Linked DNA regions of Homo sapiens: region 2 is linked to region 1. The links are contacts of gene promoters, found by promoter capture Hi-C in blood cells and fetal thymus (Javierre and others, 2016). All regions are on one chromosome and are shown on one strand. Each heading gives the region's core, a stretch centred on a gene start or on the middle of the fragment in contact. The rest is flanking DNA. Distances are from core to core; before and after follow the strand shown.

Region 1 (5,588 bases), core at 1-2,500:
AATGGCACGATCTCACTTCACTGCAACCTCCGCCTCCCAGGTTCAAGCGATTCTCCTGCCTCAGCCTCCCGAGTAGCTGGGATTACAGGCTCCCGCCACCATGCCTGGCTAATTTTTGTATTTTTAGTAGAGACGCTGTTGGCCAGCCTGATCTGGAACTCCTGACCTCAGGTGATCCACCTGCCTCAGCCTCCCAAAGCGCTGGGATTACACGAATGAGCCACCGCACCCAGCTAAAGATTTTCTTGAAAGCCTGTCTAGATCCTGAAGAACTAATCCCCTTATCTCCCTCCCTCAGTATGATGAAGAGATTTATGAGCATCATTTGAAGACACATTCATATTATGTTTCTTTCAAAGGGGTATGAGCTCCTAGAATAAGAAGAGGCACTGGGCCAAGGAGCATGGCTGGGCTCCAGTTCCCAGGTCTGATTCAGTGTGATCTTTGTCATTTCCTTTTCTATGTCACAGTTTCCTCATCTGTAAACTGAAAGTTGGGCCTGATTTTTTTCATTTTTTCTCTTTTATGCATGTGCCAATTTGTTTCCCACAGAATACTGACATCTTTATAAGCTCTCAAGAAAGACATTATAAAAACAAATTTCAGATATACTTTGAACATAGGCTTCATTATACGACATATACCTCTTTCTGTTTGGATTTTACTGTCCACTTAATATAAAAACCTGTATTAATCACTAAGGAAAAGGATAGAGGAGACTTAGAAATATCTCCAGAATAATTTTGCAACAATTCCAAGATTCTCTGCACTTCTTTTTCTGTCCCTTAATTGGCCTCCTCCACATTTTCCAACTATGGAGGTATTGCTCTACTCTCTTCGACTTTACATTGTTTTAGAATGCTTTTGCAAGGAGACTCTGCCTTGAATGAACCCAAGATATGGTGCAATGTTGAGGAAGATCTCCAAGTTTACACATGCCTGTACGATGGCCCAAAGGTCATCATCAGGTGAAAGGGACGACCTTAGAGATGAAAGAAGTTCAAGGAATGGTGCTACATTAAATGACTTAGCATTAGAAAGCATCTACTTTGCTTTTTCTTTCACCAACCCTGAAAGCCAAATAAGGCACTGGGCATTCAGGCCTTCTTTTGAGCAGAACACGTGATTACGCAGTTATTCTTCAAGAGCCTCTGTTAATCTGTCGCTTGGAGAACTCTGCATACTGTCCCAAATCCGTCTGAATTTTCCATCGGCTGCCAGTGTTCGTAGCAGAGGCCTCGGGTCTTCTCGTCCTCTCCTCAGGGTCTGGCAGCTGTCACTACCGTGGACTTCGGTCCAGTCCCCAGAGTCGGGGGCGCTGCCTTTCCCATTTCAGTTGCCAGGGGGTTCATCCACGATCGTGCCAGAGGGGCAGCGCGTGGTCTCCTCGAACTACGGGGGAGAGAGGAACCACTGTTGGCACGGGCCGGACTGAACGCCGGCTCCCACTGCCTACCTCCTCGGAGCTGCATCCGCCGACATCTTGCGCCCTACTCCCAGCACCAGCAGGGCACTTCCGGGAAGAACGGAATTGCGGTTCCGCGCGTGCGCACTCCGCAGCCACCGCCTCCCGCGAGGAGCGAGAGTCCCGCGGCCCCGCCCCGCCGCCGCAGCCGCCGCCGCAGCCGAAGGCCGGCGTTTCTGACCTCAGCCAGCGGCGACGCAGCCGGGAAAGAACTGTCGAGGGCGTCTCCGTAGTTCAGTTTTGGTTTGTTTATTTGAGACGGAGTCTCTGTCGCCCAGGCTGGAATGCAGTGGCGCGGTCTCTGCTGACTGCAGCCTCCGCCTGCCGAATTCAAGCGATTCTTCTGCGACTGAATAGCTGGGACTACAGGGGCGCGCCACGACGCCCGGCTAATTTTTGTATTTTTAGTGGAGACGGAGTTTCACCATGTTGGTCAGGCTGGTCTCGAACTCCTGACCTCGTGATCCGCCCGCCTCGGCCTCCCAAAGTGCTGGGATTACAGGCGTGAGCCACCACGCCTGGCCCACCCCACTCGGTTTTTAAGGAGATAATTACAAGGTTATTTTACGGTTCATAGTGTGTTTCAGACCTCCCAGAAGCCTAACGGTGTATTATAAACCATTCTTTTCTTTGTTTTTAAATGCATTAAAAACCTTTTTTGAGATAAAAATAGTGCAAGTACATGGTTTAAAAAAAGAAAATCAGATTGCACCAAAAGGTTTATGATGAAAAACAATAATGTTCTGTCCCTTTGCCTCCAAGAGACTCCTTTTTAAAATCTTTTGGGCTGGGCGCGGTGGCTCACGCCTGTAATCCCAACACTTTGGGAGGGTGAGGCGGGCGGATCATCTGAGGTCAGGAGTTTGAGATCAGTCTGGCCAACATGGTGAAACCCCGTCCCTACCAAAAATACAAAAAGTAGCCGGGCGTGGTGGTGGGCGCCTGTAGTCTCAGCTACTTGGGAGGCTGAGGCAGGAGAATCGTTTGAACCGGCGAGGCAGAGGCTGCAGTGAGCTGAGACCGCGCCACTGCACTCCAGCCTAGGCAACAGGAGCAAAATTCTGTCTCAAAAAAAAAAAAAACTTTTATACCTTCTAGTAGTTGTCTCCATTAGGTTTGATTTGGAACATGCTTTCCAGCTACAGGGTTCTTAAGATCATACTTGCTTTTCCTGAGCTGCATCATCTTCAGCTTCCATTATACAGGCTGACGAGGCTCAGTAGCACGGCAGGGCCACTGGCGTATTGAGAAATGGATGGTCACCGTCTTCGCATCCGAGGGTTGTGTGGCGTGCCTCGCGCCAGGAACTCCTTGGCCACTCCGCAGTTTCCTAGCTAGAACCCGGCTTCTGAGCCCAGCACGCTCCAACAGCAGCCTGCCGCGGTCCACGCCTCTGCTCCGGACTTGACCTTTCCCTTCCGGCCTTCCTCCTACAGGTGTCTTGGCACCTGGAATCTCCAGAGGAAATCTGAGGGATTCTCTAAACCCACAGCTGGAACAAGGGACGTCATACACGGCGGCCACCACCATCTTTCCCAAGGACAGCATGGCCATGGATGAAAAGGGCCATTTCATGGGCCTTACCTTCTGCTAGCCAGTATAGCCTAAAGCCCTGATACTCAAATGTAGACTCTTAGGCTCCACCCGGAGGATTCCCTAGGTCTGGGCAGGGCTTGGGAAGCTTAGCAGGCTCCTCAGGTGATTCTGCTACAGATGGTCCAGGACCAGTCTCTGAAAAACACTGTCCTCGGGAAATTGCTTTTATGTATTTACTTTTTCCATCTCTTCTTGGTATTTTGTTATCATTTTCAAATACAGAGACGGAGTCTCACTATGATGCCCAGGCTGGTTCCGAACTCCTGGGCTCCAGAGATCCTCCTGCCTTGGTCCCCCAAAGTACTGGGATTACAGGCACAAGCCACCACTCCAGCCGGGAAATTACTTTTAAAACAGATCTATTTGTATGAGATGTTCTCACAAAACTACTTAGAATAGCAAACAAACAAAAAAAAAGTGATAAAGCTCCCAAACCCCACTGTTGTGCAGAATTAAACATACTTTTTTTTTTTTTTTTTTGAGATGGAGTCTGTCTCTGTTGCCCAAGCTGGAATGCAGTGGTGCCATCTCAGCTCATTGCAACCTCTGCCTCCTGGGTTCAGGCGATTCTCCTGCCTCAGCTTCCCGAGTAGCTGGGACTACAGGCGCGTGCCACCATGACTGGCTACATTTTGTATTTTTAGTGGAGACGGGGTTCGCCATGTTGGCCAGGCTGGTCTTGAACTTCTGACCCCAAGTGATCCACCTTCCTCGGCCTCCCAAAGCGCTGGGACTACAGGCATGATCCACCACACCTGGCCCAAACATTATGCTTTAATGAAGAAATGACATTTTGCCATTAAACCTAAAATATCACAGAACCATGGATTGAAGAACAGACATGAATTACCTTGAAATCATCTACTGCAGTGCCTGAGTGGCTTTGCCTGTTCTCACAGCATGAATTCTCAGTTCACACACAGTAAAAAAAAAAAAAAAAAAATTATGAAAGATAATGTCAGCTAATAGGCCGGGTGCAGTGGCTCACCCCTGTAATCCCAGTACTTTGGGAGGCCAAGTGGGGGCAGATTACCTGAGGTCAGGAGTTCAAGACCAGCCTGGCCAACATGGTGAATACCCCGTCTCTACTAAAAATACAAAAATTAGACACACGCCTGTAATCCCAGCTACTCGGGAGGCTAAGGCAGGAGAATTGCTTGAATCCAGAAGGCGGAGGTTGCAGTGATCACTGCACTCCAGCCTGGGCAACAGAGCAAAACTCTGTCTCAAAAAAAAAACAAAACCATAATGTAAACTAGTAAAGGTAGAACACAAGAGAGCTTGAGCCACCATTCACAATTATAAGAAAAATTTTGATAGATCAGAAAAGTCTTAGAAGTCATTAGATTCTGTTGTAAAAAGATTATGTGGATTTTTGTAGTAGATGTTTCTTGACTGTGGAAATACTTAAATACATCTTAAGAGAACTGTTCTAGTTTAAAGGAGTCTGCAGTGGGGATGGGGTGGGAGAGCTATATGGGATTACTGGGACAATTGAGCAAATTTGAATATGTACAGTGTATTAGCTAACTTTATTGTTTCCTTTCTTAATAATATTATGGTTGCACAGGAGAACGCCCCTTTGGATATACATGCTGAACTACTTAGGAGTGAAGCACCGTGATTTGGCAACTGACTTTTATTTTTTATTTTTTATTTTTATTTTTTGAGACAGAGTCTCGCTCTCTCGCCCAGGCTGGAGTGCAGTGGCATGATCTCGGCTTACTGCAAGCTCCGCCTCCCGGGTTCACACCATTCTCCTGCCTCAGCCTCCTGAGTAGCTGGGACTACAGGCGCCTGCCACCATGCCTGGCTAATTTTTTTTTGTATTTTTAGTAGAGACGGGGTTTCACCATGGTCTCGATCTCCTGACCTCGTGATCCTCCCGCCTTGGCCTCCCAAAGTGCTGGGATTACAGGTGTGAGCCACCGCACCTGGCCCCAAGCAACTGACTTTTAAATATTTCAGCAGAAAAAAATTATAAATTTTTCAGGTAGTTGGAGAGAGACAAAGCAAACGGAAAAACGGGAACAATGGATTAATCTAGGCGAATAGCATAAACATGTTCGTTATTCTTTCATCTTTTCTGTAGGTTGGAAGTTTTTCAAAGCCAGCTGGGTGAGAAAGAACAGGAGTAAAGAAAGATTCTCGCCAGGCGTGGCTCACGCCTGTAATCCCAGCACTTTGGGAGGCCGAGGCAGGTGGATCACCTGAGGTCAGGAGTTCGAGACCAGCCTCACCAACATGGAGAAACCCTGTTTCTACTAAAAATACAAAATTAGCCGGGTGTGGTGGCACCTGCCTGTAATCCCAGCTACTCAGGAGGCTGAGGCAGGAGAATTGCTTGGAGCCAGGAGGCGGAGGTTGCGGTGAGCTGAGATGGCGCCATTGCACTCCAGCCTGGGCAACAAGAGCGAAACTCCATCTCAAAAACAAAAAAAGGCCGGGCACAGTGGCTCACGCCTATAATCCCTGCACTTTGGGAGGCTGAGGCGGGTGGATCACCTGAGGTCAGCAGTTCGAGACC
Region 2 (5,588 bases), core at 2,176-4,675, 170 kb after region 1:
GTTTTTGAGTTAGGAAAGTGAGACAAAGTACTGCTGGGTGGATTTGCCATTCCCAGCTCCCATAGCAAGCCATAAGGTCAGCCCACTTTGAAAAATAGTAGATCAACTCAGTCTCTTGGCTTTTGGCTAAGATTTTCTGTGAAAACATTTTCACAGTGTAAATCAGTGAAAAAATGGGATTCACTTACTAGAAATACATTTACATTTAGGTTAGAATGCCTCTATTTAGGATTAAGACATACCCAATACTGAAAATAAGTGTTATTCAGCATTTTTACAGTCAATAGTAATTGTCATTGAATACATGTTTTAAATGATAATCTCATTTTGCCACACATAGTTTAGTCTCTTATTTGTGCATTATGTATTGGCTTTATTATCTTACAAAGTAGCTATCCATTTGGGCGACATACAAATGTCTGTGAAGGTCTGAGTCTTATTTTTTTAAGTGCTGATTATTTTCTGAAGGACTTTCACGGTTAAAGTTAATGGAGTTTAAACATAACATCACGTTGTGTATGTGAATCTTTTGGGTGCCCCGAACAATGTCTCATACTCCAGGAGATAACAGAGCACATACTTTATTCCATCAACTGAAGTGAAAGTATTCAAAACCAAATTTACAAATGACAGTATACCAGCTGTTATTGGATGCCTTTTTATATAAAGGAATTTCCTAATTTACTTGTTTTACTTTTGCTGTCTTTTCCAGATTTTTTTGTTTTTTCTGTGATTTTTTTATATATTTTTATATTATTCATCATGTTGTATCCAGTTGCCTCTGTTGACCAGGTTCTTCAGGTAAGACTTAAGCACATCATTTGTTTGGGGAAAAAGACTAACCTGTATACATTTCTTTTTTTCCAGGATCTCTTCTTTTTGTGTATTCTAAGATGCTGTTATATTAACCCAAAGATACTCTACAGAGAATAAAGAACCTAATGAAAATAGCAGCTTTTCTTAGCTATACCTGTTTAATCTCTGCTTCTGGTGCCGTTTTCATTTGTCTGCAAACAAATTAAATAGCCCTTGGTCTTTAAAAACATAAAAAAACGTTGATCCTGGTACCTGTTACTCCTCTCTTCTCTACCAGTCTACTTCTTGAGTAGTCTACACATGCTCCCTTTTGTGTTTTGGCCATTTAGTTCTTCAATTCTTTTCATTAAAAACTTTCTGAGTAATGAAATACTTGTTTTTCATACAAAAGAATATGCACACATATTTAAGTTGTTAGCCATAATTAAAAAATAGTAAAGAGATAACACCCTGAGTGTATCATCCAACCTGAAAAAATGAACATTACCTGAGCACAAGTCAGTGACAAAAGAAAACAAAAAAAAGGTAACGTTACCAATCAATAAGGCACTCTCATGTACCTGTTTTGATGATTTTCCCTGTCATTCCCTGTTTCATTATATACTTACCATATATGTTTGCAGTCATAAAAGATAGTTTTGTGTGCTCTTGAACTTCATGAAAATGTTATCTTGTTCCCTTTTTTCTGTGACTTGCATTCTCCCATCAACATTGTTTGTTGATACATTATTTTATTTTCATTGCTGTATAGTATACAATTGTAGGAATATATTAAATTCATTTCTCCATCCTCTGTTGGTAAATAATTACTGAACATATTGCTGCTATGAACATATTTTTACATGTCTTTCAGTGTATGGGGGTAAGTAATAGTGTATGAAAGAGTGGAGTAGGAGTGGTTTATCCCAGGTACAAGCAGTGAGAGAGTGGTGCGATGCTGTAGAGAATTTGCAAACAGTGATTAAGCCCAGTAGAAGTCCATCTGCTTTTTAAATATTGCCATGTGCTGGTAATTCCAGACACTTCCAGTGGTAATATACTCCTTCCACTACTACCCTTGGCAAACCATTAGGGACAAAAGTTTCCTCTGCTGTATTCTGGTATCATGATGAGCATGTACTCTTCAGCTACCACGTGCCAAGTTGTTTTCCAAAGTGATTGTATCAATCATCCATCAGTGTTTGACATCCTGTTGTTTCACATCATTGCCAACACTTGGTCTTGTCCAGTGGGTGTAAAATGTTATATCATGATGGTTTTACTTTGCTCATTAACTTTACTAATGGAGTTGAGCATTTTTTCATGTGTTTAATGGCCATTTTTATTTTCTCTGTGAACTGCCTATTCATGCCTTTGGCCAATTTTTTCTAGGATGTTGTCTTTTTTAAAAATTTTTAGGATGTTGTCTTTTTTTTAAAACTTAGTTTTCAGAGTTCTTAATGTATTATATTTGACTGTATAGTGATAAATATCTTCTCCCAGTTTGTGGCTTGTCTTTTTACTTTGTTTATAATATCTCTTTTTAAAAAACAAACTTATAGTCTGACATGGCAAATTTATTAATTTCTTTCTTTATTTGTTCCTCGTGTCTCAGTTTGGCGGACTTGTCCATCTCAAAGTTATAAAGATACTCTCACATTTAGTCTTTAATCCATCTGGAATTAATTTTATGTATAGCTTTTGAATAGGGATCAAATTTCTTTTTCTTTTTTTCTCTTACGCATACCCATTTGTTTCAGCAATTGCTTATTGAAGTTTGTCTTTGCCACTGATATTCAGTGATACCTTTGTCTTATATCAGTTTCCTTCCTTCCTTCCTTCATTCCTTCTTTCCTTCCTCCCCCGCCTCCCCTCTCCTCCCTCCCTCCCTCCCTCCCTTCCTTCCTTCCTTCCTTCCTTCCTTCCGTCCGTCCGTCTGTCTGTCACCCACGCTGCAGTGCAGTGGTATGATCTCAGCTCACTGTGGCCTCGACCTCCTGGGCTCAAGTGGTCCTCCCACCACAGCCTCCTGAGTAGCTGGGACCACAGTTGTGCACCACCACACCCAGCAAATTTTAAAATTTTTTGTAATAAAAATTATAAATGGGGTTTGTAATGGGGTTTCACTGTGTTGCCCAGTCTGACCCCCAACTCCTGGGCTCAAGTGATCCTCCTGCCTCAGCCTCCGAAAGTATTAAGATTACAGGCATGAGCCATGGCGCCTGGCCACAGTTTTCCATATATATGACTAATAGTGTTTTAGGGACTCCATATTTTGTTGTTTAGTTCTCTTTATTTGTGCCAGTACTATATTGTCCATGCTACCATGACTTTATAAGAAACCTTGATACATGCTTGGGTAGGACTCCTACCCCCCTCTCACATTGTTGTTCATCATGACCTTTTTGGCTGTGCTTGAGCTTTCCTTCTTCCTCCTTTTGTGTGTGTGTGTGTGTGTGTGTGTGTGTGTGTGTGTGTGTGTGTGTGTCAGAATCTGGCTCTGGTACCCAGGCTGGAGTGCAGCCCACTGCAAGCTTTGTCTCTCGGATTCAAGCGATTCTCCTGCCTCGGCCTCACGAGTAGCTGGCACCTGCCACAACGCCTGGCTCTAATTTTTTCTATTCTTAGTAGAGATGGGTTTTCACCATGTTGGCCAGGCTTGTCTTGAACTCTTGACCTCGGGTGAGCTCCCTGCCTTGGTGAGCCACTGTGCCCAGCTAAGCTTTTCTTCTTAACTTTTAAGTTTAGTTTGTCAAATACCAGGAAAAGCCCTTTCGGAACTATTAGAATTACACAGAGTTGATCAATAAATTTTGAGGGTGAATTCATTAGTTTTCCTTCCCACAAACAGTATCTCGTTCTGTTTCTGTCTTTTTGACCTAATGTCTTTCAGTAAGTCAGATAGTTTTCTCCCTAATGGTTTTTGTACATTTTTTGTTAGATTCTTAGAGTAATAACAGTTTTTGATCCCTTGATAAATTATAATTAAAATGACATTTTCTAATTTTTTATGTTGTTGAACTCAATACAGTTGTTTTAGATATTCATCTTGTTCCCAGAAGCCTTATCAGACTTTATTCAGACACATTTTAGATTGTCTAGGATTTTCTGTTTAGACAGGCATCATATATAAGTAATTACAAGCTGTAATTACTTACTTGACTCCCCAGCAGTTTGTTTCTGACATTTCACAGTCTTTATGTGCTTTTTCTGTATTTTTCATGTCTTAATATATTAGTTATAGTGATAGTGATATCCTTGTCTTACTCTTGTCTCTAAAGGACGTGTTCCTAATAGTTCACCATTAGATAAACTGTTTGCTGTATATTTCTAGTGTATAGTCTTTATCAGGTTAAGGAAGCTTCCTTAGTTGTACAGTGTTGTTAACATAAGTGGTTTTAAATTTTTATCTAATGCTTTTTTTTTTGAGATGGAGTCTCGCTCTGTCGCCCAGGCTGGAGTGCAGTGGCATGATCTCGGCTCACTGCAACCTCCACCTCCCGGGTTCAAGCAATTCTCCTGCCTCAGCCTCCCAAGTAGCTGGGATTACAGGCGTGTGCCACCATGCCTGGCTAAGTTTTTGTGTTCTTAGTAGAGATGGGATTTCACCATCTGGCCAGACTGGTATCGAACTCCTGACCTCACGATCCACCCACCGTGGCCTCCCAAAGTGCTGGGATTGCAGGTGTGAGCCACTGTGCCCAGCCAATCTAATGCTTTTTCTGCAGCTATTGAAATGGTCACACAGTTTTTCTCCCTGAAGAATGTGATGAATTATAGCTGATCAGTATTCAAATATTGAACTAACTTTGCATTTCTAGAATAAATTCAGTTTGGTCATGATGCACACTCTTTGAAATTTGGATTTAGGTTGCTATGATTTTGTTTTGGATTTTTGCCTCTGCATGAATGAGATCAGATTTAATTTTCTTTTCTTGTATGTTACGGACAGGTTTGATCTTAAAGTTATATAACTTAAACTTACAAAGTTTGTGAAATGAGTATTCCATTGCAGGGACTTTTTAGTAATTTGTTTAGTCCTGTTTTGCTGGATATTTAGGTTGGTTCCAGTGTTTTGCTATTAGAAACAATGTGGTATTGTAAGGAGAATGGTGTGAACCCGGGAGGCGGAGCTTGCAGTGAGCCAAGATCACACCACTGCACTCCAGGCTGGGCGACAGGGCGAGACTCCGTCTCAAAAAAAAAAAAAAAAAAAAAAAAAAGAATGTGGTATTGTAAATCCTTGCACACTTCAGTTACAGACAAATATATATTTATAGGCTAAATATGCAAAAGTGGAATTGCTTGGTCTGAGGGTATCTATAAATTTAATTTTCATAAATTCTGCATTATTGAACTTTGAAGATGTTCCAGGTTGTAGTCTTACCAGCAGTATATGTCTGTTTCCCTGCATATTTCATTGAGGGGTTTAGATAAGCACTTACAGTAAAAGAAGAAAACAAAATGCATTATATTTCTCTCCTGGTGCACATGTCTTCTGTTTCACAACCAACTTTTTCTTGAAATAGTACCACATTCAGCTCACCTCCCACACGTTCGTCAACTAATCTGGCATCTTCCCCTGCCAATCTACTGAAACGGCCCTCAGCAAGGCCGTTAGCCTCTTACTTGTTAAGTCCAATGGACTTTTCTCCCTAATGTATTTTTTTCCAGTCTTACTTGACTCCCCAGCAGTATTTGACGAGTTAGCCATGTCATCATTCTTAAGATACTCTCTTCTGAAATTTTGTGATGCTTTGCTGTCTTTTGGCCTTTTCTTAGCTCTGACTCTC

The links. Contacts are between HindIII fragments. The CHiCAGO score rates a contact against its expected background, and 5 or more counts as called.
Region 2: a contact is called between a fragment that was not itself captured here and the fragment with the promoter of TMEM44-AS1 in region 1, in 1 of 17 cell types (erythroblasts). The highest score is 5.2, in erythroblasts.

The regions. Positions count from the first base shown.
Region 1 is chr3:194,579,930-194,585,517 of GRCh38, reverse strand. It overlaps TMEM44-AS1 (TMEM44 antisense RNA 1), which reads right to left and starts at 1,250. Exons shown (of 3, transcript NR_047575.1): 1 at 1,070-1,250. RefSeq lists enhancers at 1,234-1,283, 1,319-1,984 and a silencer at 1,474-1,733. The HindIII fragment of the contact is 5,912 bases long and covers 1-3,148 here.
Region 2 is chr3:194,415,092-194,420,679 of GRCh38, reverse strand. ATP13A3 (ATPase 13A3) reads left to right here. Exons shown (of 34, transcript NM_001367549.1): 31 at 713-801. Among named protein-coding and RNA genes, the nearest start is that of GP5, 19 kb to the right of the region's middle. The HindIII fragment of the contact is 188 bases long and covers 3,332-3,519 here.